Regions from separate parts of the Homo sapiens genome. Here all the other regions are linked to region 5. Evidence: promoter capture Hi-C in 16 types of primary human blood cells and fetal thymus (Javierre and others, 2016). All regions are on one chromosome and are shown on one strand. Each heading gives the region's core, a stretch centred on a gene start or on the middle of the fragment in contact. The rest is flanking DNA. Distances are from core to core; before and after follow the strand shown.

Region 1 (2,700 bases), core at 174-2,673, 530 kb before region 5:
TTTTACAGGCTCATAAACCAAAGGGACTTGTCTTTTCTCAGATAAGACTTTGGATTGTGGACTTTTGAGTTAAGGCTAAAATGAGTTAAGACTTTGGGGGACTGTTGGGAAGGCATGATTGGTTTTGAAATGTGAGCACATGAGATTTGAGAGGGGCTGGGGGTGGAATGATATGGTTTGGCTGTGTCCCCACCCAAATCTCATCCCAAATTCCCACGTGTTGTGGGAAGGACCCAGTGGGAGGTAATTGAATCGTGTGGGCAATGCTGTTCTCATGATAGTGAATAAGACTTATGAGACTTATGAGATGTGATGGTTTTAAAAAGAGGAGTTTCCCTGCACAAGTACTCTTCTCTTGTCTGCTGCCATGTGAGATGTACCTTTTCCCTTCTATCATGATTGTGATGCCTCCCCAGCCATGTGGAACTGTAAGCCCAGTAAACCTCTTTCTTTTGTAAATTGCCCAGTCTTGGGTATGTCTTTATCAACAGTGTGAAAACAGACTAATACACATAGTGAGGCCAGAAAATTGTCAAAAGCATCTGGATAGAAATTACTGGAACTAGAATTCCAGGGTCTTGTAGAAGATTATTCTGTGTCCTGAATCATAGAAAATTTCATGATTCTTCTGTTGCCCAGTATGCCATAAGTGTAGGTGAAAATATATTTTAGACTAACATAAAAATTTTAAAAACTGTTTATATAAGCTAAGCCTCCCTTCACATTTAAACATTCCTCACTGTCCCCTATTATACTATGATGGTAACATTCTAAAATAAGCAATAGGAGCAATTCTCAAGAAAGATAGGAGCAGCTGGCTGTAAGTTACCTCTTGCCCTTAATTTGAAAAGTTTCATCCTTGAATATCTTATATGTTCAATTTGTAAACCTCTTATATTCACATACTCAGCAGATATTTAATTTATGCCTACTACCTGCAAGTGGTAATCAGTGTTGGATATACAATGATGAGAGTGCACTGTCCCTCTTCTCATGGGGTGCAGCACTGACCAATCAATATATAAGTCCCCTTGAGTCAAAGCTTCTGTATTTCTCAGTGACAGGGATATTCCTGAGAACAAGTGTCTGCATCAATATCCAGTCCTCAATAAACAAGGGGAACATCAGGATTGCATGAAATCCTATAGAGCACAAATGTTCAGGTAAATTACCTCTGCTCTGATTATGTAACTATGTACCTGTTCCAAAAGGGCTCTGTAGAATCTTTTCCAACAATAGGTAATGCTTAAAAACGATATTCAGAAAACACGTAAGAGAGGAATGCAAACCAAATTGTCATCCACTGACATCCTGGCCTTTTAAATTCCTCAACATGCCACTGAAATAGTACAAGTGATTAACTATCTGGGGTGCCAGTAAACAATTATTGATAATATGCTGTGTGAAGTAGGAAAAGTAGTTTTCTAAGATGAGAAGGAGGCATGGTATTTCAGTTAGAAAAAATAGTATATGCAAACATGGTATTGTGAGATGGCACAGCACTTACAGAGAATTAGAAGAAGTTTGGAATGAAGGAAGCCTAAATTGCAGAATTAGAAGAAGGTGAGAATGAGATAATCAAACATAAGCCTGGAGAGGAAGGCAGAGATCAGGTCAGGAGGACATTTGTGAGCTTGTTCTTCGTTCTGTAGTTCATGGGAAACAGATAACAGCCTTAAATAGAGAAAAGAAGTAATATTATTTGAATTTCTGAAAGTCACTTTAGTTGCCAAGACAAGTCCTGGAAGACTTGCAGAAGGCAAGTTAGTAATGAGTGACGTCTTGAGGAAGAGATTCCAGTTAGGAAGCTTGTTTTAGTAATCCAGGTGATAGATGGATAGCCTGAACTAGGACATAGCAACTGAGGTAGAGGGGAAAGGATGGGTTTGAAAGGTTTGGGAAGGGATTGGCTATAGACATTGGGGATGAGAAAAGAAATCAGGAGAAGCTTTAGTTTTCCTACTAGTAGAATTAGGTGGTATGCAGGGTATGCTATATTGGCAATGAGTTTTATTTATGCTCTTCTTTATTCCCTCCTGTATTGTAAGGGCAGAGAGGCTAAAAACTACATTTTCCAGATTCCTTTGCAGTGGTGGTTCTGGGTTTGATTCAGGTAGTGTGAATAAGATGCACTCACAGGACCCCTGGAATTTGAAGGTGAGACAGAGGCCCTCTTTCTATTGCTGTGCTGGCTGGTGACAATAGTTAAATATACATGTTTTCAGTAGCAGATGGCAATTCCTAGTGTCTAGTCATGAACTTTGTGGGTGTGAGGCACTCGTGGTGGCAGTAGTTGTGGTAGCAGCAACACCAGCAGCTACCTGATTAAATTGCAGCTGGGGGCAAGGGGGTGTGATCTTGAAATCCAAATTGTCCATGGGTGGGCTCCTTACTTATGTTTCTGTCTAGCAATTTTTTCAGCACCCAATTTCTTGTGCTAAGTCCCCTTCTGTGTGAAATATCTAGAATGTTTTCTGTTTCTTGTGCTGAAGCTTGACTGGCATGGTTGGGAGTCAATATCTTGCTATATTTGGTATGTGGAAACCATCTCTACTAAGTTGCTGGTTATGTTCATCAGTCACTGAGTATCTGAAATTTTCACCTTTCCAGAGAATTAAGCTGAGACATTGAAACCTATGTAGGTCAATATAGGTGAAGTGTCAATTAGATCAGAAAAAATGCTTAAAAATTTAGAAAATA
Region 2 (2,700 bases), core at 105-2,604, 960 kb before region 5:
AATATATCTGCTTTATTTTCCTTCTTGTACTTAAGATCTAAAATAATCTTATTCATTTATTTGCTTACTGGGGTTTATTATCAAGACTCTTCTCCTCCCTACAAAAAAATAACAATAAATTCCATATGGCAGGCCTTTTTTCTTATTCACCACTATCTCCTCAGCTTCTAGAATAGGGCAGATAGAGGGCAAACAGTCAATAAATATTTCTTGAAGAAATAAATCAAATAAATCAATTATATATATATATATATAGAGAGAGAGAGATATAGATATATGTTCCAATTCAGAGTGATATCTCTTTATGTTTAGAAGAAGATTCGAAAACACTAGCTCAGTTACTAATCTACTTTTTCAAGATTTAAAACAAAGTACTAACTCAGAGCTTAAATCTAGCATTTCTTTAAACCCAATCAAAACACAAAATGCTTAACACTATAAATTATCCTCCTAGGTTGAGTTTCTAACATTAAAGGAAGCAAAGCAGAAAATTCCCAGAGAGTATAATATAAAGTGAAGACAAAAAATATCTCCATACAGCTTTCTTTTTTTTTTTTTTTTTTTTTTTTGGCCAAGGGACATATGATAACTGCCAAAAATTAGGCCGTAATTCAAGAAGCATTCCTGACATCATTGTACACTTGTTTCTCTACTCAAAACACAAATTTATCACTAACTGTCACTGGACTGCTATCCAACTACAACTTCCCCATCTCATGCATAAAACTATGCTTTTAAAGTACTAAAACATTAATACCCACCAAGATGGGGGATAGGCCTTTTCTTACATGAATATGTAAAAGTTGATTTAGGTATTCGTGATAGAGAAGTGAAAGGAAAGACTGAAAATGAGACCTTGCTCACCTCTTTCCTAAATGGGATACTGCAGGTTATAAGGAAAATCAAGAGTGGACAGAGAAAAGGGAGTTTAGAATGATCTGAACCTGTGTTGGCAGTCATGCCATTGGGGAACACAGCCATTCAACAGTGGAAGTACTTGCCTTCCTTGACAGCTGCTAAGAAGGTGATGCCGCGGCTACAGCTCCCAGATGAGCTCATGTGGGTATGGCAAAAGGTTCACCCCTGTAACATACTGTCCTCTTTAGCAGCTGTTCAACTGCCTAACACATGGCTATTTTCTCTGCCTAAATCAGTATCATTTAGTTATACTACTGAAGACCGGGAGGGACCTGATATAACTGATGCTATTTGCAAATTAATAGATGAGGGAACTAACCATAAAAATTTTTTCAGAAATCTGATACTAATTTGAACAGTATTTTCAATCAATTACAAGGATTCATTTCTAATCTTCTCTCAAATATTGATGAAACATTTCATAATTTGTTTTGACTTATACATAGATTTAATTGCATATACATTTAATTGGAGCCCATGACTCATTAGCAATAGAATTTCCTAACTTGCTCCAAATTTTCAGTAGCCTCAGGTTTCCCAGAGACCCAGCCTTTCTCAGTTGCCATGGATTTCCTGCCTCTGGGGGTGCCACCACATTATTACTTAGAGGCATTCCTACTCCTAAATCTGCTCTTGAATGAGCTGGCATTTGACAGAATTCCTCCTTTTTGGAGAAGCAACCAGAGGCAGTCTGAGATTATTCAGATATTTATCTTTGACTTCCGGTACTGGGGGAAAGACAGAAAGACTTAGCTAAAGAATCTCAAGTAAGCCTGACCTTGGGTACTGGAGACCTAAAGCTACGGTATCTCCAGGTCCCGAGCGTCAGTAAGATGGAGCTAATTAGGAGGAAACCGAGGTCGGTGAGGAAAATGACTATGAGATCAGATTCAGCCCAAAGCGTGGCCAGGAATCAGCTCCACCCAGAGGTCTCCAAAAAGTGGCAGAACACTCTGAGTTTTCTCCAAGGGAATTGATGGACAGACTTGTAGGAAGAAAACATAAATTCACTTAAATAAGTTTTTTACCTCTTCCATTTTATTATTTTTTAAATATTTTTATCTTATATATTTTAAATTCATATTTTATCTTCTATATTCATTTTTATTTCATGTATACATTCACATTTATACACCTGTATACAAAATTCTTGCACGTGGTTTATAAGGAAATAAACATATACTGGAGATGAGTACTCAAAACTTTTATTAATAGGTACATTCAGTCCAAAAAGTTTGAAGGCTGATGCAGTAGAACTGAGATGAGCACAAGAGAAGGGGTAGGAAGAGGGCGCTAAGTCAAATGGTCATGATCAGCTGTCTGAAAGTTGGGGAGATCCCACAGGAAGAGAGCCCAGAGACGGGGGACAGGATAGGCCCCGAGGACAGCCTGGAAGGAGGGTCCACACCAGAAACAGAGGAGCACAGCTGCATCAGCCCCGTCTTCTATTTCCTGCCAGAGGGACGCAGTTGACCTCACAGCGCCCCCACCTCGCATCCCAGGATCATTAGCAGCTGACAGCGCAGGGAGGCTGTGTTTATCCAACATCTTTTCTTTTTCTTTTCCTTCAGGCCTCTGGTGTTATTCCCCACCCGACGAGGAATACGTCTTCCTTCTGTTATTAAATCTTCAGGCTCCCTGAGTCCTGCTCCTATTGTTTCCTCTTTTGTGCCATCTGATCCTCCAAACACCTTGTCCTAGGCTCTAGCCGGACATTTCTGACATCTCAAGACTTGAGACTTTGATTTCTGAGCCCCTCAGATCACACGGTAACTCCACCCA
Region 3 (2,700 bases), core at 138-2,637, 560 kb before region 5:
GATTACAGGTGTGATCCATCATGCCTGGCCTTGTGTTCCATACATTTTGATATGTTTTATTTTTATTATCATTTGTTTAAAAATATTTTTTATGTTTTGATTTCTTCTTGAATCTTCAGTATTAATTTCTAAATATACATTTAATGTCCTTGCCGATAGGCTTGGGATTAAGTCTCTCATTTTGCCATTTGCGTTCTGTTTTCTCTGCTTGTTTTATTTTTTCATTTCTTGCCTTTTTTTTATACAGTGTTTATTTTGACTTTCTTTTCTTTAGCTGTATTAGTTATTCAGTCTTTAATCTCTTAGTCCTTACTCTATAAATGCCAACATGCATTCCTAACTTACTGAAGTCTAATATTAATGAGTATTTTATCACATCCTAGATAATACAAGGAACTTAGTACACTTTGACTTCTTTCATTTCTTTTACAATTTATGTAGTGTCATTGGTACTTATATATATATATTTAAACCTTATACATTTAAAACCCCACAATGCCCAATATAATAAAAACATCTAGTTATAATCGTTTTTATACTTAATATACATTGATATTGATTTACACATTTATCATTTCCTTTGCCCTCTGTTTCTTCCATCTCTAAGCTTCCACTAGAATTGTTTATTTATTCTACCTAAAGAATACTGATTCATATTTTCTTTTGTGTGGATATGCTTATGACAAATTATCTCTATTTTCATTTGTCTGAATGTATTCTTAGTTCACCTGCCATTTGAAAGGTTATTTTTGCTAGGCCAGCAGTTATTTTACTTCAGCCCTTTGCAGTAGTTATGATTCCACTGTCCTTTAGCTTCTGTTGTTTCTCTTGGGAAATCTGTTGTTGATCAGCTTGTTACTCCTTTGAACATACATTGTGCCATCATTCCCTGTACCCAGCTACTTCTACTATTTTCTTTTTATCTATGATTTTCAGAAGTTTTACTATTATGGATTTGACTTTTGTATAGTCTTCTTAGTTTTCATCTTGCTTGGTACTTTCACCACTTCTGAAGTCTAGATTAATGTATTAGTAAGTTCTGCGTTATTGTGTTTTCAAATACTGCATTTGTTCATTTTCTCTCTTATTTATGGTAATCCAGCTACACATATGTTAAACCTTTTTACTGTAACCTGTGTATTGATTATATTTCTTCTGTATTGTCCATCCTTTTGTATGTCAGTCTGTATATTTTCTTACCTGTCTTCTGTTTTGTAATTTTTTTATCTGTAAAAAATTTAAAAGGTTTATCCTAAGAACCATTCATTTAGATTCATTTCTCAGTTCTAGAATTAAATTTGAGTCTCTTTTGTGATTTCTACTTCCTTCCAAAAATTTTAGTCTTTTATTTTCTTGAGTGTATTAGGCATTGTTATTTCAATACTCAGTTCTGAAATTTAATGATCTAAATACCCTGTGGATCTGTTACTGTTGTCTGCTGTTTCTGTTGGTTTTAGGTGATAGTAATTTTACCTCCTTGTATGACTGGTTATTTTTTATTCAATACCAGATACTGTGTATGAAAAATTGTGGAGACAATTTGAAGGCTAGCACGATGTTATATTTATTCATAGAAGATTTATTTTGGCTTCAGAAAGGTGGCCAAAGGACTGACAAACCCAGATTGCTTTAATCTAGGCAGGAATTGAAGTTAAATTTAGTCTCTGTTAAAGTTTGTCTGTTTCTGGTCCATTTTTACTCAGTTCCAGTCATTCCTTGTTAGTAGCTCTTTAGTTCTAGTTTTTGTCTTCCTAGCTTCATTTGTCTCTTGGCACCTTCTGTTAATTCCCAAGAGGGAGCTTTTGGGAATTGGCCAAGCCTTCCAGAGGAAATGCACCTCCCAAAGAGGTGCACATACGTTTGGGTTTTCTTCTTGTCTGAGATCACAGCCCCATAATTCGTCACTGTCTTGGTTCTCAGTGATTTGAAACAAATGTTTTTGTTTTTAATAATTTCTTACATTTTCTAGTTCTTACCAAGAGGGTTGATTAGTGTTACCTAGTTCATCATGTAAAAACAGAAGATATTGTGATTATTTTTATACTGAATTATAATCTTTAGATGGTTATTTTTATATCTAGTTTTCTATAGGTTATCAGAAATTTTTCATTTGTTTATACTTTTATACACAATTTCTTAGCATAGATTTGGATATACATCCATAACAGAAAGCTTTAAGGCATATGAAGAGGTAACCACTAAAATAGATGGATGCCCACAGTTGTACTATATATGACTAAATTAGATTTCAAGTAGATAAAATTTAGCTGTTGGGAAGAAAGATTTAAGTTTAGTATTATTTTGGCCATCTATCTTTTTTAAGACAGCAAGGAAATGGTGTTTCATATGTAAAATAACTACACCTTATACAACATTTCTATTTCCCAAATTTACTTAGATTCTTTGGCTTTCTGCTTATCAGAAATTGGGTGATCTCATTTGTTTTTAGAGTCTCTTCTTTATCTTAGCAGGGTAGTAATATTTAGAAAGATAAACGATAATTTGTTTAGAAAGATAAATTTTTTTCTGATAATGTATTAATCATAATTTTCATTCAAATATCAAAATACTCTTCTCTTTGTTCATCTTTATAGAACTCCAGAAATAACTATTTGCCCCTTACTTCTTTTTCTCTAAATTTGTTTTTTTATTTACTGATCAAAAGGTTTTTAACTAAAGTTACCAAGGATTCCATGCACT
Region 4 (2,700 bases), core at 130-2,629, 580 kb before region 5:
TAGTTGAGTTTCTGCTTCTCTGGGGAAACAGTTTTACTGAACATCTTTACCTTTTATTCTTTATTTTAATTCTCTTCAAATTATTATTTTTTTTTTACAGGAACATTCCAACTATGGGGCCACACCATTCAGGTAGATTGGGCTGACCCAGAGAAAGAGGTGGATGAGGAAACCATGCAGAGAGTTAAAGTTCTTTATGTAAGAAATTTAATGATCTCAACTACAGAGGAAACAATTAAAGCAGAATTCAATAAATTTAAGCCTGGTGCAGTTGAACGGGTAAAGAAACTTAGAGATTATGCTTTTGTTCACTTTTTCAACCGAGAAGATGCAGTGGCTGCCATGTCTGTTATGAATGGAAAATGCATTGATGGAGCAAGTATTGAGGTAACACTAGCTAAACCAGTAAATAAAGAAAACACTTGGAGACAGCATCTTAATGGTCAGATTAGTCCAAATTCTGAAAATCTGATTGTGTTTGCTAACAAAGAAGAGAGCCACCCAAAAACTCTAGGCAAGCTGCCAACTCTTCCTGCTCGTCTCAATGGTCAGCATAGCCCAAGTCCGCCTGAAGTTGAAAGATGCACTTACCCTTTTTATCCTGGAACAAAGCTTACTCCAATTAGTATGTATTCTTTAAAATCCAATCATTTTAATTCTGCAGTAATGCATTTGGATTATTACTGCAACAAAAATAACTGGGCACCACCAGAATATTATTTATATTCAACAACAAGTCAAGATGGGAAAGTACTCTTGGTGTATAAGATAGTTATTCCTGCTATTGCAAATGGATCCCAGAGTTACTTCATGCCAGACAAACTCTGTACTACGTTAGAAGATGCAAAGGAACTGGCAGCCCAGTTTACATTACTTCATTTGGGTAAGTTTAAAAATACTTTAAATGATGTATAATATGAAATTAGGAAATACTGTAGATTATTTTTAAATTCATTTATTTTGAACTCAACATTAGTGGTAAGTATGTAACATAAATTTTATCTCAATTTTATAAAGTCATGATAACTTTCTTGAAACTTGTGCCCTGTAAAATCTTCCTACATTTAGCTTTTCTTTTTTTTTTTTTTTTTTTTGAGAGATGGAGTCTTGCTTTGTCGCCTAGGCTTATGTGCAGTGGCATGATCTTGGCTCATTGCAACCTGTGCCTCCTAGGTTCAGGCGATTCTCCTGCCTCAGCCTCCCGCGTAGCTGGGACTACAGGCACGTGCCACCATGCCAGGCTAATTTTTTGGCTAATTTTTTGTATTTTTAGTAGAGACAGGGTTTCACTGTGTTAGCTAGGATGGTCTCGATCTCCTGACCTCGTGATCTGCCCGCCTCGGCCTCCCAAAGTGCTGGGATTACAGGCGTGAGCCACCGCACCTGGCCTACATTTAGCTTTTTAAGCATTAACCTGTGGGAAAATTTGGTTTTACTGTAGTGTTCATAACCCTGTTTTATTAATTTATTGTTTTTTTAATGACTAATTCTCAGTTGAAATAAAAATTTTTTGTATAAGTTACAAGATATGTTCATTAAACCAATTTATTATAGAGTGTCCCTGCATCTTTGGTGAAGTCTACATAATGATCTTTTTGAGGGGCAGGGGATAGGGAGTTAGTAAAATCAGTGGGATTTCAGATGGGTCGTGTGTAGACACAGCTTTATGCTCACCAATCTGGAAATTTGTCATTATCACTCATGAAAGACAAAAAGCATCATTAAGAGATGTTTGTGACCATTCTCTTTTTAATTTCATGTTTTTCAAAAAGTAAATTTTCTTTAAAACGTTTGAAGGATAATTATGAAAGGCTTTGCAAAAGCATAGAAAGATATGCTAACTAAATATTTGACGTTGTGAAGGAAGAGACATAATATCACTATGGTGTTTTCCTACTTTCTGTTTTTTACTGTTAGGTTAGCCTCCCCCCTCCTCCACCCCCCAAAACCTGTTTATTTTTTAATGCGGCTATAGATTTTAGTGATGATTACTTTGTGTCCCAAATAATATTTATTGGAAGAGTAGTGGTTTCCTGAGAATCAAATAAAAGAGAAAGATCTTTTGAGTGTTATCATTGTTTCTTGATTATAATTGTGAAACTCTTCACTGAAAATTATTTTTTATATGGTTGCAGAACCATAGTACAGAAGCTTATATGTATTTAAAATTCATATTCTCAAGTTTAAGAGAAAACAGTCAAGAAAAACATTCTCAAAAGGGAGAATAATTTTTATATATTGTTTAGGCTTGCTTTTATATATTGTTTAGGCTTACCATAGCCACTGCCATAGTATTAGAAATTTTTTTTTTTTTTTTGAGATGGAGTCTGTCTTTGTCACCCAGACTTGAGTGCAGTAGCATGATCTTGGCTCACTGCAACCTGTCTCCTGGATTCAAGCAATTCTCCTGCCTCAGCCTCCTGAGTAGCTGGGATTACAGGCGCCCACCACCGTGCCCGGCTAATTTTTGTATTTTAAGTAGAGACAGGGTTTCACGACGTTGGCCAGGCTGGTCTTGAACTACTGACCTCAGGCGACCCGCCCTCCTCAGCCTCCCAAAGTATATTACAAATATTTTTAAGAGATTCTGATTTGGAGATATCAGCAAAACTTGTGGGACTAAAGGTAAGGTTCTGCTTGAAGACACATTTAAGCAGTGTCTTCAATTATTAGTTTGGAGATATTTGGGGATTTAGCATC
Region 5 (2,700 bases), core at 149-2,648:
AAACTAGTATTGAGGCTACTTTGGTAGTCTTAAAACCATATAGGGGAGTTTGTAATACTGGATGGAGCCCAAACATGATCATGTGCAAAACCTCAAAAGTAATATAAGATTTACCCCTGCTTTATATAGGACTGTTCTAGAATCACCAATTTCAACCCATCTAATACAGTGTTTACACTGTGAAATGATTCCAAATAAAAATACTTTACCTGGAAAGTAGTTCTTTTGGTAACTTTTGGACTCTTTGTATATGCCAAAGTGGTGCTAAAAACTTCATCAGACATAGTGTATTTTTTCTCGTTACCTTTATAAAATAGCTAATTATTAGAATTCAACTTCTGATAGTAGCTGAAATATACAAAACAAATCAGACTTCGCATGCTTCAGAATTTATTTTATTACATTTGATTCTACTCTCCCCACAAAGGTCAAAGAAAAGCATCTGATATGAACATTGGGCTACATCTTCACTTAAAAAGGTTCTTGTAAAGAAATAGCAAATTCTCATAACAAGCTTGTTTAAAAAAATTCAAATGGAAGTTATCCTAAAATAGTTTTGCAACTACTTAAAAAGTCTGCAAATAAATGATTACAAGTTAATACGACAAAATGCTGCCAATTAAAATAGAACACCTTATTTTTCACCTCTCTTCTAAAGTATAACATTGCCTTCAAAATAAGTCACGTCTTATTTAAAAGGCCATCAAAAGGATCGTCGGCGTAAAAATTATGAGCACCACCACCAAAAAAAAAATGTATCTATATATTTGCATACAGCGCTATTCAAAGAAAAAGATCGTAATGCTAACCCGCAAACAGCCAGCGAGATGTATTGCAAGCCAATTTTTCCTCTCACAAAAGTGTTAAAGAGAGCCAGACAAAACGACGAAGCTTTCGCGATGAGCCGCATTAAAATCGCGGTTTCCCGTACTCGGAGCAGAGGCCTGGCAGGGCCGCCCATAGCGTTGTGCGCCCCGGGTTCCGTTCCCTACCAGGCCAGGTGACGTCCGGGTGCTCGCCGCTCCTCACCGCGCCGTATGCTGAGCACCAGCGAACGCCAGGCCCGTGCACGTCCAAGCGCGGTCTCTGTCCGGATCCCCCATGGCCCCCAGGTCCCGCTTTCTGTTCCCGGCCCCGGACGCCCGCGGCCAGTTCTCCGCGACCCTGAGAATCAAGAGCCAAGCATCGGGTAGGAGCTGCTCACCTTGGTCTGGGCCTGGCGGCGCCCGCAGAGCCGGTCCTGGACCGAGCGAGGAGGAGGGGCTAATAACAGAGGCGGAGGGCGGTTGCTAGGAAACAGCGTCTTCGGGAGGAAGTGACTTCCCCACCGCCGGGTCTCTCGGGTACCCAACACCGCTCTTCGGCCCAACGTGTCGCTGGGGCAACCACCCAGACGAAGGAAGTGACATCACCTTCCTGGGTCTTTGGAGAGGGGCTCATTATTGGTCGCTTGTGTGCATGTGCTGTTGCCTAGGAGACAGGACCCGCCCAACTCCCACCCAGATAGCCTTACTCTTGCCAATAGAGTAAGGGTCCTTATCTGCACGTGTTGCAAATAAAGCACATTCGTCGTTTTGCCACAGTTAGGACGTGAAGTTCTCTGAATCGAAGTACGGTGTCAGTGGATGGGACAGAATAGTACGGTAGTGAGTTTGCAGAACCCTGTTTCCGACTGCAGGTTTGAATCCTGGTACCCCTTTCCTACACACGTGATTGTCCCAAGTTAAGGTCTTTATGACTCAGTTTCTTCTTCTGGGGGAAAACAAAAGTGTACTAATAATAGACACCTGAAAGGTTGCTGTAAAATTGAATGAAATAATACAAGTGGAACACTTGGAAGAGTGCCTGGAATTGTATTCGATATTAGATATGCTCTTCATGCAACTAAGCCGCAAAGGGCCTGGAGAGACCTCAGCTCTTGTGGACACAACTGAAAGCCCATTTGACATCTTACTTGAATGTAAAACTCCCCCTCTTTGTATACTTAGTGAGTAATCTTATTCCAATCAAACCAAACAAAATGATCCACTAGGCTAAAAGAGCATGTGCTACTAAAGTAAACAAAATCAACATCATTTAATTCGCATAGGAAATTCTTAAAGCAAATAAAAACCAAAAACGTTTATTGAAAGTCTTTAAAATAATATGAATTTTTACTATTTTTAATTTTTAAAAAGCTTAATCCTAGTTGAATTATCTGAATGAATTCATTGACTAGTAATTAAACTCATACCTGGTATTTTTTCCACATCTCTAAAATATGTTAATATTTCACTAATTCAATTTTGTATAAACAAATCACATTGAGATAGAAATTTAATAAATCAATGTATTGAAAAACTAAATGTGCATAACAAGAAATAAGAAATTTAGTAAAATACAATGCTGTATTAATCAGGGTTCTCTAGATGGACAGAACTAATAGTATATATATATTATATTATATATATTATATAATATATTATATATATAATATATATTATATAATATATTATATATATATGTCCACTCATCTGTATCCATTTATGAAGCTGAAAATGTACACCACCTCTACACACACATACCCAGAATAGAAAATGCTCCCTATTTTCTATTAACTCATGGCACTACTGTTGAACCCTTCCAGGTTCACCTCATGCTCCTGGAACCTCCTTTCCACTGTAAAACATTCTCTCACTTTTTCCTCTATAATCGCATTCT

The links. The method cuts DNA at HindIII sites, captures the fragments that hold promoters and counts their contacts. A CHiCAGO score of 5 or more calls a contact.
Region 1: a contact is called between a fragment that was not itself captured here and the fragment with the promoter of MAP9 in region 5, in 1 of 17 cell types (endothelial precursors). The highest score is 5.0, in endothelial precursors.
Region 2: a contact is called between a fragment that was not itself captured here and the fragment with the promoter of MAP9 in region 5, in 1 of 17 cell types (total B cells). The highest score is 6.5, in total B cells.
Region 3: a fragment that was not itself captured here is called in contact with the fragment with the promoter of MAP9 in region 5 in 1 of 17 cell types (endothelial precursors); the score reaches 7.8 in endothelial precursors.
Region 4: a contact is called between a fragment that was not itself captured here and the fragment with the promoter of MAP9 in region 5, in 1 of 17 cell types (endothelial precursors). The highest score is 8.5, in endothelial precursors.

The regions. Positions count from the first base shown.
Region 1 is chr4:154,848,973-154,851,672 of GRCh38, forward strand. No RefSeq gene overlaps it. Among named protein-coding and RNA genes, the nearest start is that of RBM46, 69 kb to the left of the region's middle. The HindIII fragment of the contact is 766 bases long and covers 1,041-1,806 here.
Region 2 is chr4:154,413,943-154,416,642 of GRCh38, forward strand. The region is part of intron 1 of DCHS2 (dachsous cadherin-related 2); the gene reads right to left. Among named protein-coding and RNA genes, the nearest start is that of DCHS2, 77 kb to the right of the region's middle. RefSeq lists an enhancer at 2,252-2,471. The HindIII fragment of the contact is 5,217 bases long and covers 1-2,700 here.
Region 3 is chr4:154,817,602-154,820,301 of GRCh38, forward strand. The region is part of intron 4 of RBM46 (RNA binding motif protein 46); the gene reads left to right. Among named protein-coding and RNA genes, the nearest start is that of RBM46, 38 kb to the left of the region's middle. The HindIII fragment of the contact is 1,565 bases long and covers 606-2,170 here.
Region 4 is chr4:154,798,682-154,801,381 of GRCh38, forward strand. It overlaps RBM46 (RNA binding motif protein 46), which reads left to right. Exons shown (of 5, transcript NM_144979.5): 4 at 101-883. Among named protein-coding and RNA genes, the nearest start is that of RBM46, 19 kb to the left of the region's middle. The HindIII fragment of the contact is 1,539 bases long and covers 611-2,149 here.
Region 5 is chr4:155,375,567-155,378,266 of GRCh38, forward strand. MAP9 (microtubule associated protein 9) reads right to left here and starts at 1,399. Exons shown (of 14, transcript NM_001039580.2): 1 at 1,205-1,399; 2 at 210-348. The coding sequence starts at 284. RefSeq lists an enhancer at 852-1,281. The HindIII fragment of the contact is 1,286 bases long and covers 890-2,175 here.